Linked DNA regions of Homo sapiens: region 2 is linked to region 1. The links are contacts of gene promoters, found by promoter capture Hi-C in blood cells and fetal thymus (Javierre and others, 2016). All regions are on one chromosome and are shown on one strand. Each heading gives the region's core, a stretch centred on a gene start or on the middle of the fragment in contact. The rest is flanking DNA. Distances are from core to core; before and after follow the strand shown. Region 1 holds the start of POGZ (pogo transposable element derived with ZNF domain). Region 2 overlaps TDRKH (tudor and KH domain containing).

Region 1 (5,527 bases), core at 1,869-4,368:
TGGTAATAAATACTGTCAGTTGTTTTCCTAAAAGTGACAAGCTCACTTCATTTTCAAGAAATATCTGCCAAATACTAAGTGTGAAAAACCATAGTCTGCTAGTCGTTCTTTCAAGTAAAAATGCTACTCCATGAAATAAGCCATTCATTCACAACCCAATCTCACAAATGCTTTTCCTTCATGACAACAATCACACCTCCCTAGGCAGCATAAATGCTTTATCCATGTTTATTTAATCACAAATTCTTAAAAATTAAAAAGACATGTAGTCAAAAGCTAAGACTTAATAATAATAGGCCGGGCACGGTGGCTCATGCCTGTAATCCCAGCACTTTGGGACGCCGAGGCAGGTGGATCGCCTGAGGTCCGGAGTTCGAGACCAGCCTGGCCAACATGGCGAAACACTGTCTCTACTAAAAATACAACCAGGGAGGAAGAGATTGCAGTGAGCCGAGATAGTGCCACTGCACTCCACCCTGGGCGACAGAGCAAAACTCCGCCTCAAAAAAATAAAAATAGAATAATAAATTTTACTGCTTCAAGGGCATTCTCAAGTAGTTTGGTGCCCCTGACTTGCTTTGTGCTAAGGTACCGCCAGTAGTTTTACCCAGCCTTGCTTTTGAACCATCAGTGTATCAGTGAAAACAATAAATAGCATCTTACTATTATTTTGAAAATAGTTATGACCTTGAGGCTACCCTGAAAGGGTAAGAGGAGATCCCCATGGGTCATCTGTCCACACTTTGAGAACTGCTTTCCTACATTATACCACTAGTTCAAGATGGGAGTGGAAACTCTAACTAAATCAGGTTCGTCCCAAGAGTCCATTCTGTTACCTCCTTTAGTTTGAGATACACCACCAACACAGCTCTGGAAAAGGGAAGGAAATCAACGGCACAAGGTGTCACTTGTTTCAACATCTTGAACACTTTTATGTTAGACCAGTAATTCTCAATGTAGTGGTTACATTAATCAGTCTCAGCCCCAGGACTGCTCATTTGAAAATGTAAAGATGACAACCCCCCTCTGCTCCATTCAAATAAATTTGGGGGATGAGGCCCCCCAAATTGTACGTTTAACCACCTTCAAGTTACTTTTTATGCACCCCGAAGTTGAGAACGATTGTGCTAACAGTTCGAATTCAGAGTTCAAGCTCTCAGACCCTGAGCAATAGTGTCTCAAAATTAATCGTTTGCCAACGAGCAGCCCTCCCTGCCCCCTCCGTTTCCCTTTCCTCTAGTTGGGTAAATGCCTACAGAAGTAAAACCCGGCCGGGCGCGGTGGCTGACGCCTGTAATCCCAGCACTTTGGGAGGCCAAGGCGGGCGGATCACCTGAGGTCAGGCGTTCAAGACCAGCCTGGCCAACATGGTGAAACCTCGTCCCTACTAAAAATACAAAAATTAGCCGGGCGTGGTAGCACATGCCTGTAATCCCAGCTACTAGGAAGGCTGAGGCAGGAGAATCACTGGAACCCGGCAGGCGGAGGTTGCAGTGAGCAGAGATCGTGCCACTGCACACCAGCCTGGGCGACAAGAGTGAAACTTCGTCTCAAAAAAAAAAAAAAAAGTAAAACCCCATTTCTGTGGAGTTTTGAGCGGCGGTAAGAGGTGTCTACGGGCTTGGAAGGACGGGCTACACCGCTTGCATCAAGACGGCGGCTGCTGTGAGATAGTCCAACTGCATCTTAGTTTCCATTTCGAAAATGAGACTGGCCACTAAATGACTCTAAGGACTCATCAGCACTACCTTTTTCTGAACTAAGAATGTCTAAGACAAGTGCTACTAGCAGTTTGAGAGAATCCCACATCTGGAGAGGAAGGAAATAAGAACAACACGCAGAAAGACGGAAAACAAATAGATCAATGACAGTACTCCTTTGCAAAAGGTGCCAAGAATCTAAATAAAATAGTCCCCGGGATAAACATGGCGCCCACCGCGGCAGGACATAATCACCAGAAAATAAAGATTCCCCGCCTCATTCCATTTTATAAATCACGGCGCCATCCCAAAAGAAATTTGGGGACCGAGGGAGGAGACTTCGTAAACTAGCTGCAGTGCACTAAGGCTTAGGATGTACTATTAGACCAAGCAGAGATTACATAACACAAGGGATCGGCTCAGCAATCACTCATTTTCCTCCTCCCGCTCAAAACGAGCGCCCCACTCCTTCTCGGAGCGGGAATGGGGCGGGGAGGGCCGCGCACCCCCACCCCCAGGGGCCGCTCCGCCGCCGCCCGCCCCTCCGCCGCACGGCCTCGCCCCCTCGCCGGCCCCTCCCGCCGCGCCCCGCCGTCTCGCCACCGCCCGCGCCCCCGCCCCCGCCCCTTCCCCAGCGGGCCACCGCCCGCGCCCGCGCCGCCCACTCCTCCGAGACGCCTCGCGCCGAGCGTGCGTGTGGACGTCGGGCTGTGTGCGGGGCCGTGGGGCGCGAGTGCGCGCGCGCGCGCCGCGGCGGGCGCCGGGGGGCGGGGGCGGCCGGCCAGCCGGCAGGCAGGGACCTCCGCCGCCGGCCCTTCGCGCGGCTCCCGCGGCCCGGGGCGCACGCACACACACTCGCGCTCGCGCGCCGCACCCCGCGGCCGCCCCTGCCGCGGGCCGCGCCGCCACTCGCGGTGGGCGGGGGCGCGCACCGCCGGCCCCCCGCCCCCACCCCCGCGCGTACCGGCCCCATCCCCCTCTCATTGTCTCGCCTCTGAACGCCTCGCCGAGCGAAAAGATAACGGAACCCCCGGGAGCAGGGGGTGGGGAGAGAGAAGGCTCGCTCGCTCACTCACCTCCTGTGGTCGTCGCCGCCGGTAGTCTGACCCGAGGAAGGCGCCGTCGCCTTAAAGGGACCTTACACCCGGCGCCAGAAGGGGGTGGGAGCAGGGGGAGGGGACGGGGGCTTGGGGGGAGACGAAGAAGAGGTAACCGTTGAAAGCTCGTCTCCCCAAGGGTGAAAGGAAGCCTCCCTCGGGTTCGAGTGATTCGGGGTGGATTTTTTTCCCGAGGGGGGCGGGGGGGCCCCGAGGGAGGGGGGTGGGGGGGCCAAGGAATGCGGCTCCGTGTACGGGAGCTGGCGCGGGGGAGAGAGACGCCGACTCCCCCCACCGACCCTCTCGCCCCGCGGAGGGATACGGCTCGTCACTTCCGCCCTCCCCTTTTTCACGGCCTCCCAATTGGTCGGAGCGCGCTGCACGTCATGGGCTCATCCAAACCCCTGCCCGGGCTTCTTTTCTAGTCAAGTTTGGCTGGGCCTGCAAATAAATAAATAAAGGAAAACATTTTTTGTAATGAAAAAAGAATAATTAGCTTCAGAAGCTATATCTAAATTTTGGTGAGAAAAATGAGACTTCCAAAGAAAATATTCCCCAATTTACTTGCCAAGAGTTTCCAAGGAAGTGTTGGGAGGCTCCCCCACTTTCCACTCAAGGCTTAGACCCAGTCAAGAGGGAGACTTCATGACACAGGCCAGGTGGTGAGGCCCAGTGGCACCAACAACTGTCATTGGAACAAAGAACAAAATGGCACTCACTCTTTCTCAAGAGACACTCGGCCAAGTAACCTTGTGGCTGCGGCCTTGTTTAAGTGAAGAACTTTTAAAAGCCATTTTGATCCTCAAGCCCTTCTGGATCCTGGAAAGAAGTGGCACACGATTGTTAAAGCGATTATTGTGATGGAAACTGCTTTGCTCCCATTGTGAGTAGATTCAGCAGAGATCCCCAGTTCCAAGAAACCACACACACTCCACATCCTTATGCTTTTTGCTCCAATCAAGGCTGAGATGGGTTGGCTCAAAGAAATTGGTTAGTCCACTCAAACGACCATCCACCTGTTTATTCTTCCCCAGACAAAAACTACCTCTTTTCAGGTAGCTAAGAAATTTTGTCCTTTATTGCCTTCTGAGATTATAAAAATGTAATATTTTCCTTGAATATTTGAAAATGTTTGCTATTTAAGCAATACACAAATATTTGCTTCAAACCAAATGTGAAATCAAGGTACTTGGTGCAGAAAGGGGAAATCCAGAACTATGTTTATTTGTGCTCTTTATATACACACTCCATTCAAACCACCAGACTGAAAATAGGCAGTGGAAGTAGGCATTCCAAATTGTATGCACCTGCCCGTGTGAGTGTGCACATGTGCATACACATACACACACTGCCACCACCCAGTTTCATTCCATTTCATACCAAAACCATGTGAGTGATTTCCACTAGTGTAGGATGCTTAGGAAGGACTTCATTATTTGAATGAGAAGAATCACTAAATCCTTCTGAAAATACTTCTGAAGACTTTCCAGACCTGATCTGGAGAAGCCCATATTAGGATTATGGGATCAATCACCAAAAGACTACATGAAACTCAAATCCTATTTTATACTGTCGTGTAATTAGTATAATTCATTATATATGTTATATTTACATTATGTATATTACGTTATTAACCTTTGAAAAATTCCAACATATTTCCCCATGCCCTGTCAATTTATTCTCCCAGCCAATGAGATCTAGCGCAGACTATGCCATATACCGTTGACCAGTAACTGTTAGCATGCTTTATTGAAAATGGATCATGCATCCATTCATTCATTCAATGAATATTTATTGGGGGCTGGGCATGGTGGCTAACACCTGTAATCCCAACACTTTGGAAGGCCAAGGGAGGAGGATCACAGCAGTCTGAGGGCAGCCTGGGCAACTTAGCAACATCCCATCTCTACAAAAAAAAATTTTTTTTTTTTAAACAGAGTCTCGCTCTCTCCCCCAGGCTGGAGTGAAGTGGCGCGATCTCGGCTCACTGCAACCTCCGCCTGCTGGGTGCAATTCTCCTGCCTCAGCCTCCTGAGTAGCTGGGACTACAGGCGTGCGCCACGATGCCTGGCTAATTTTTTCTGTTTTTAGTAGAGACGGGGTTTCACCAAGCAGGCTGGTCTCGAACTCCTGACCTCGTGATCTGCCCGCCTCCGCCTCCCAAAGCGCTGGGATTACAGGCGTGAGCCACCGTGCCTGGCCCCAAAAAATTTTTTTCATTAGCTGGTTGTGGTATTCCTAGATACTTGGAAGACTTGGGAGGATCACTTGAGGCCAGGAGTTTGAGACTGCAGTGAGCTATGATGACACTACTTGCACTCTAGCCTGGGAGGGACAGAGCAAGATCCTGTCTCAAAAAAAAAAAAAAAATTATTGAGCACATGTACTAGGCACTGTTTTAGGTGCTGGGAATACAGCAGCAACAACAACAACAAATACCTGAATCTGTGGGATTTATACTCTAGAAGGAAAGAGACATAAAATATACACATAAACAAATTGTTCTATTGTCTATTGTTAAATAACAAATGACCCCGAACTTAGTGGCTTAAAACAACAATTTCATTACCTCTCATGGTTCTGGGAGGTAATTAGGCTCAGCTAAACAGTTCTCACTTGGGAGTCTCGTATGCAGTGGCTAGGGCTGAAGTAATCTCAAAAGCTTCCTTACATGTCTGGAAGTTGAGGTTGACTGTTGGCTTGGACCGCAGCTGGGGTTGTTGGCAGACC
Region 2 (5,096 bases), core at 2,086-4,585, 320 kb after region 1:
CCTGACCCCAGCCATATTATACTGGCTGCTCAGACTGAGAAGGCATTCCTTCTAATCTCTCCAATATCTAAGCCAGTATTTCTATCTTCAATGATTAATGGGCTCCCTCTTTGTTACATACTTTCAAACATGGGCATCTCTGGGATGGCCTGGGCTTCAGACTTCTGAAAGCTGTCATCACTAGGTTTCTCCCAGGAACCTTCCTTTGACACTACCACAGCCATGTCGCCTCCTCCTTTGGGTGGAGGAGTCACCAGGGGTGCAGTCGGCTCCATGCTAGAACTGGTGTTTTTCCATAATGCTGGCTCTCCAGCTCCACCTGGCTCTGTCATGTCTTCTCTTCTCACACTGATTGGCTGTTTGCGTGGGACCCTGGTTTCTGCAGAATGAGCAATTCTCTTCCGAAGTTCTTCATCTTCTGAAACTTTCTCCAGTATCAAATGCTGTGGAAAACAAGAGAAAGGATGATATTCTGACCTGGGATAGAGTAAAAGGATCTTCTCATGCTCAGGTATAATTCAAGTCTATTAGCTACTTGCCTTGGCTGCTGCCACTTCCTTCTGTGTTCCTGAGATTTTTATAAGTCTTGATAGTAGTAATGTCCCTTCTGATTCTTTGTCACAGGTAATTTTGGCTCCAGATGCCTTACAGATAGAACGAATTGTCTCGCCGCCTCTCCCTACATTAAACAATATATAAAAACCTGCCCTTCCCTCCTGGCCAACCTTAGCTACTGGAGAAATCACTGTTTTGTATATACTAGGAGAAGAGAATCAGTTCTCATTTCTAAAGTGAACAAAATACAAGATGTTGAATGGAAATCAGGAGCTACTGAAATCATTACTGTGAAAAGGAGAATACCATATTCTTTCCTTTTTCCATTTTATTTAAACTCTACACTTTGGCTAACTTCATGTCATTTTCATTTTGACCACTCAGCATGGCCATATCAGGTCACAAGAAGATATGCTACATAGTGTGTCAGAACACCGGATCAAGGACAGGACATTTCTCTGCCTCTAACAGCAGCACTAAGCAATGCTCTAGGGGAAAGCATAAAAGGTACCCTCTAGAGCACTGTCTTGAAAGACTTGAGATAACATGAGCATCCCAAGCTTCCCTTTAAAAATCAATTATAAGGTAAATATAATACATCTACTAGAACCCTTAAAGAATCAATTTGTAAGGTTCAGATCATACAACTTCTTGAGGAAACAGGTTTGGTTTTACCACCAGTTCTACAAACAGTAAACCTCTGGTCTCAATGTCCCTTTTTTTCCCCTCACATGGTGAAGGGGAACTAGGCCAGAAAAAACCCTGGGAAGGTGTGAAAGAGGGGCAAAGGTAAAGAATAAAGGAAACAATAGAGGAAGCCATCCAGTGGTACCTATGATTCTGCCCACAGATCTCTGGGGAACTGAAAGCTGCTCAGACACTGGGGTATTCTCTGTCAGGATCTGATGGATTGCTGCTTTGGCCTTGCACACCTGAACAGGAAAACCACTGATAAGCAGCACTCGCTCATCGCCTACATCCTCTGTGTCCACATCAATCCGAGCACCTGTCTGTTTCCGCAGCTGCAAAGAAAAGGACATTTGGCAGTACATTCTGGAAGAGCTCCCATTTGAGCCCAGCTACAGACACTCTAAAACAAACCCTGGAGGTAGATAGAATTAGCCAAAGGAATTAGCTAATACTATCTATACAACCAGTCCTCAATTACTTTATATACAACCTCAGTTACTATCTATACAACCAGTCCTCACTTTATGGAAGGAGATTAGTAACAAATGTAACCCCAAATAGCAGTAAATTCAAACCCATTTATCTTTGTGTTTAGAATCCTTTCCCCTTACTAATTTTATTTGGATTAGAGAATCAAATATTTTGTTTTCTTGACATTCCAGCTGAACAATGGAAGATGGTAAGAAGAACCAGGTAGCCATTCAATATTTACTGTCAATTAATGAGAGTTCATTAATTCCATAGTAGAAAAGGATAATTTGACCAGGCGCGGTGGCTCACGCCTCTAATCCCAGCACTTTGGGAAGCCAAGGCGGCTGGATCACGAGGTCAGGAGATCGAGACCATCCTGGCTAACATGGTGAAACCCTGTCTCTACAAAAAATACAAAAAATTAGCTGGGAGTGGTGGCGGGCACCTGTAGTCCCAGCTACTTGGGAGGCTGAGGCAGGAGAATGATGTGAACATGGGAGGCGGAGCTTGCAGTGAGCCAAGATCATGCCACTGCATTCCAGCCTGGGTGACAGAGCCAGACTCTGTCTCAAAAAAAAAAAAAAAAAGGATAATTCAAGTTATACCATGCTGACAATCACCCAGTCAAAAACCCGTATTTCAAGCTAAGTCATCCTTTCTCTAGGGAGAAGTACTCTTCTCTAGAAGGGAAGTAGCTAAAAAGTTTAGTTAGCTAAAAAGTTCCTCTATTTGTTCTTTTAAAAATATACATAGTGGTTGGGCCCAGTGGCTCACACCTGTAATCCCAGCACTCTGGGAGGCCGAGGCAGGCGGATCACCTGAGGTCAGGAGTTCGAGATCAGCCTGGCCAACATGACGAAACCTCGTCTCCACTAAAAATACCAAAAATTCGCTGGGCGTGGTGGCGGGTGCCTGTAATCCCAGCTACTCGGGAGGCTGAGGCAGGAGAATCACTTGAACCCAGGAGGCGGATGTTGCAGTGAGCCGAGATCGTGCCATTGCACTCCAGCCTGGACAACAAGAGCGAAACTCCATCTCAAAAAAAAAAAATATATATATATATATTTTATATATACACACACACATACACACACACACAGAGCATGTGAATGTTTTGTGATATGGGGTCAGTGGAAGGAAACAAGAAATCAATAAACAGAATCAATCCTTGGGAAAGCAGACTGCCTACTCACACACTTACCTGTTTAATATTGGCTCCTTGCCGGCCAATGATGAGTTTCACAGCCTCCTGGGGAACCCGCATCTCTATCTCAATGTCATCTTCCCCAACAAATGTCAGCCGCTCTTCTGCACAGATCATTGTTCATCAGATCAGACTTAGATAACACCCAAAGCTAGTATAACTACCAGTCCTCCCCAGAATCTGGCTGTCAAAGAGACACTGATCCAAGAGATAAAGTGAGGATCTCAACCATAACAACAAGGAAAAGTGGCATCTGAATGGGAATTAGAAGGTCCCAAAGGATCAGAGATGGGCATTTTCTCTGGGACACTGTTTCAGATGCTAAAATGGGAAAAGCAGATTCTGCAATAAACAGGTGCTGGGGTTTGGGCAAACTACTTCTCCCAAGACATGACTACTGGAGAAGAATGAAGGCCAAAAGTTACCTGAGGGGTCCATTAGGCTCAGAACTTCTCCTGACTGATAGGTACATAAGTCATTTCTCTAGGTCCTATTCTCTAGATCCAGCCTTTGAGGTAAGTGCCTTCTACTAACAACTAATTAGAGAAAAGGAATATATAAAAAAGATGAGTATAGAAATTAAAAAAGAACTCTTTGCTGTGTTGATGTTGCTGAAGAAAGCACATCAATGGAGTTATAAAATGAGTTCATTTCATAGACTAGCTTACTTTGCTATGTAAGAACATAGCAAAGACTAGGCCAGGTGCAGTGGCTCATGCCTGTAATCTCAGCACTTTGGGAGGCCGAGGCAGGTGGATCACTTGAGGTCAGCCACCCTGGTGGTGAAACCCCGTCTCTACTAAAAATACAAACATTAGCCAGGAGTGGTGGCACACGCCTGTAATCCCAGCTACTAGGGTGGCTGAGGCAGGAGAACTGCTTGAACTCGGGAGGCAGAGGTTGCAGTGAGCCGAGATTGCTCCACTGCACTCCAGTGTGGGCGACAGAGTGAGACTCTGTCTCAAAGAAAAAAAAAAGACTAAATAATTTTAGTCAAAGATTCCTCACAGAAAGTCAATTAAAATACCTGGGTCAGGCATGGAGGCACATGCCTGTAATCCTAGCACTTTGGGAGGCCGAGGCAGGTGGGTTGCTTGAGCTCAGGAGTTCAAGACCAGCCTGGGCAACATGGGAAAACCCCATCTCTACAAAAAATACAGGCCTGTGGTCCCAGCTACTTGGAGGCTGAGGTGGGAGGATTGCTTGAGCCCAGGAGGTCGACACTACAGTGAGCCAAGATTGTGCCACTGTACGCCAGGCTAGGTGACAGAGTGAGACCCTGTCTCAAAAAAACCCCACAAAAAACCCCAAAACAAAACACACACAATACCTGGCAAGGAAAGAGTTTTTTTCAATTTAACAAGGCAGGAGCATGTCTGAACATTTTCACACACACAGTCATAGGGTTCACGTACCTCTGCTTTCCCTATACCTGCGGTATAGGATATAGGCAACTGTTGCACTGGCTGGGATCCCAAGGCCCAGGGCTATTTTCTGAATGGTGGACAGGCTTGTCCAAGAAGTCCGTTCAGTAGACATTTTCTGCTGTACTCTTTGACTTATATCCTGAAACAAGCAAAGCAGGGAAAAGAGGGAGGTTTCATCCAATCCTTTTATGAATAGCAGAGAGGCATGGGAGCACATTATTACTGAAAAGACTACTACTGCCTACCTTCCAATTTCAAGAGCTTCAGCAATTTCAAAATTTATTTCATATAAAAAGGGCTCAGGGTATTTTTTAAAAGTTAGCTAAGGTACACATAGAATTAAATAGAAGCATACTTCACTTTCCCCACCCAAGTCAGTTTTAAAAGACAAAAAAAATTAAATGAATCAAATATTTGAAATATATATACTTAGATTTCATATTAAATTATTTAAAATTACTTATCTAAGTCCTTTTATGCCTCCAGGGCTTTCCAGAAGCTGCTGCCTCTGCAAGAAATGCCATTCCAGGCTTAGTAAAGGCCTTACTATTTATCTTTGTTGGAAGTACAGTCTTCATTTACTGTCTCTACTTTTGGTTTCTATTTATTTACTCCTTAACGAACAGTGAAATGGGGTTCTTCCCTGCTCCATCGCCAAAACTGTAACTTCCCAGATAATCAACCTACAGGTCATGCATGGAGCCTTATCTCACCCATCTCTCTGCGGTAGCAGGAAGGTGGCCACTCCC

Evidence for each region. Contacts are between HindIII fragments. The CHiCAGO score rates a contact against its expected background, and 5 or more counts as called.
Region 2: a contact is called between a fragment that was not itself captured here and the fragment with the promoter of POGZ in region 1, in 3 of 17 cell types (M2 macrophages, erythroblasts and M0 macrophages). The highest score is 9.1, in M2 macrophages.

The regions. Positions count from the first base shown.
Region 1 is chr1:151,456,376-151,461,902 of GRCh38, forward strand. POGZ (pogo transposable element derived with ZNF domain) reads right to left here and starts at 3,119. Exons shown (of 19, transcript NM_015100.4): 1 at 2,777-3,119. RefSeq lists silencers at 2,220-2,269, 2,460-2,509 and an enhancer at 3,340-3,389. The HindIII fragment of the contact is 6,484 bases long and covers 1-5,457 here.
Region 2 is chr1:151,778,564-151,783,659 of GRCh38, forward strand. It overlaps TDRKH (tudor and KH domain containing), which reads right to left. Exons shown (of 13, transcript NM_001083965.2): 2 at 4,336-4,486; 3 at 2,918-3,024; 4 at 1,388-1,577; 5 at 540-679; 6 at 122-443. The coding sequence starts at 4,459. It also overlaps the pseudogene LOC100270670. Among named protein-coding and RNA genes, the nearest start is that of TDRKH, 9.4 kb to the right of the region's middle. The HindIII fragment of the contact is 4,445 bases long and covers 1,114-5,096 here.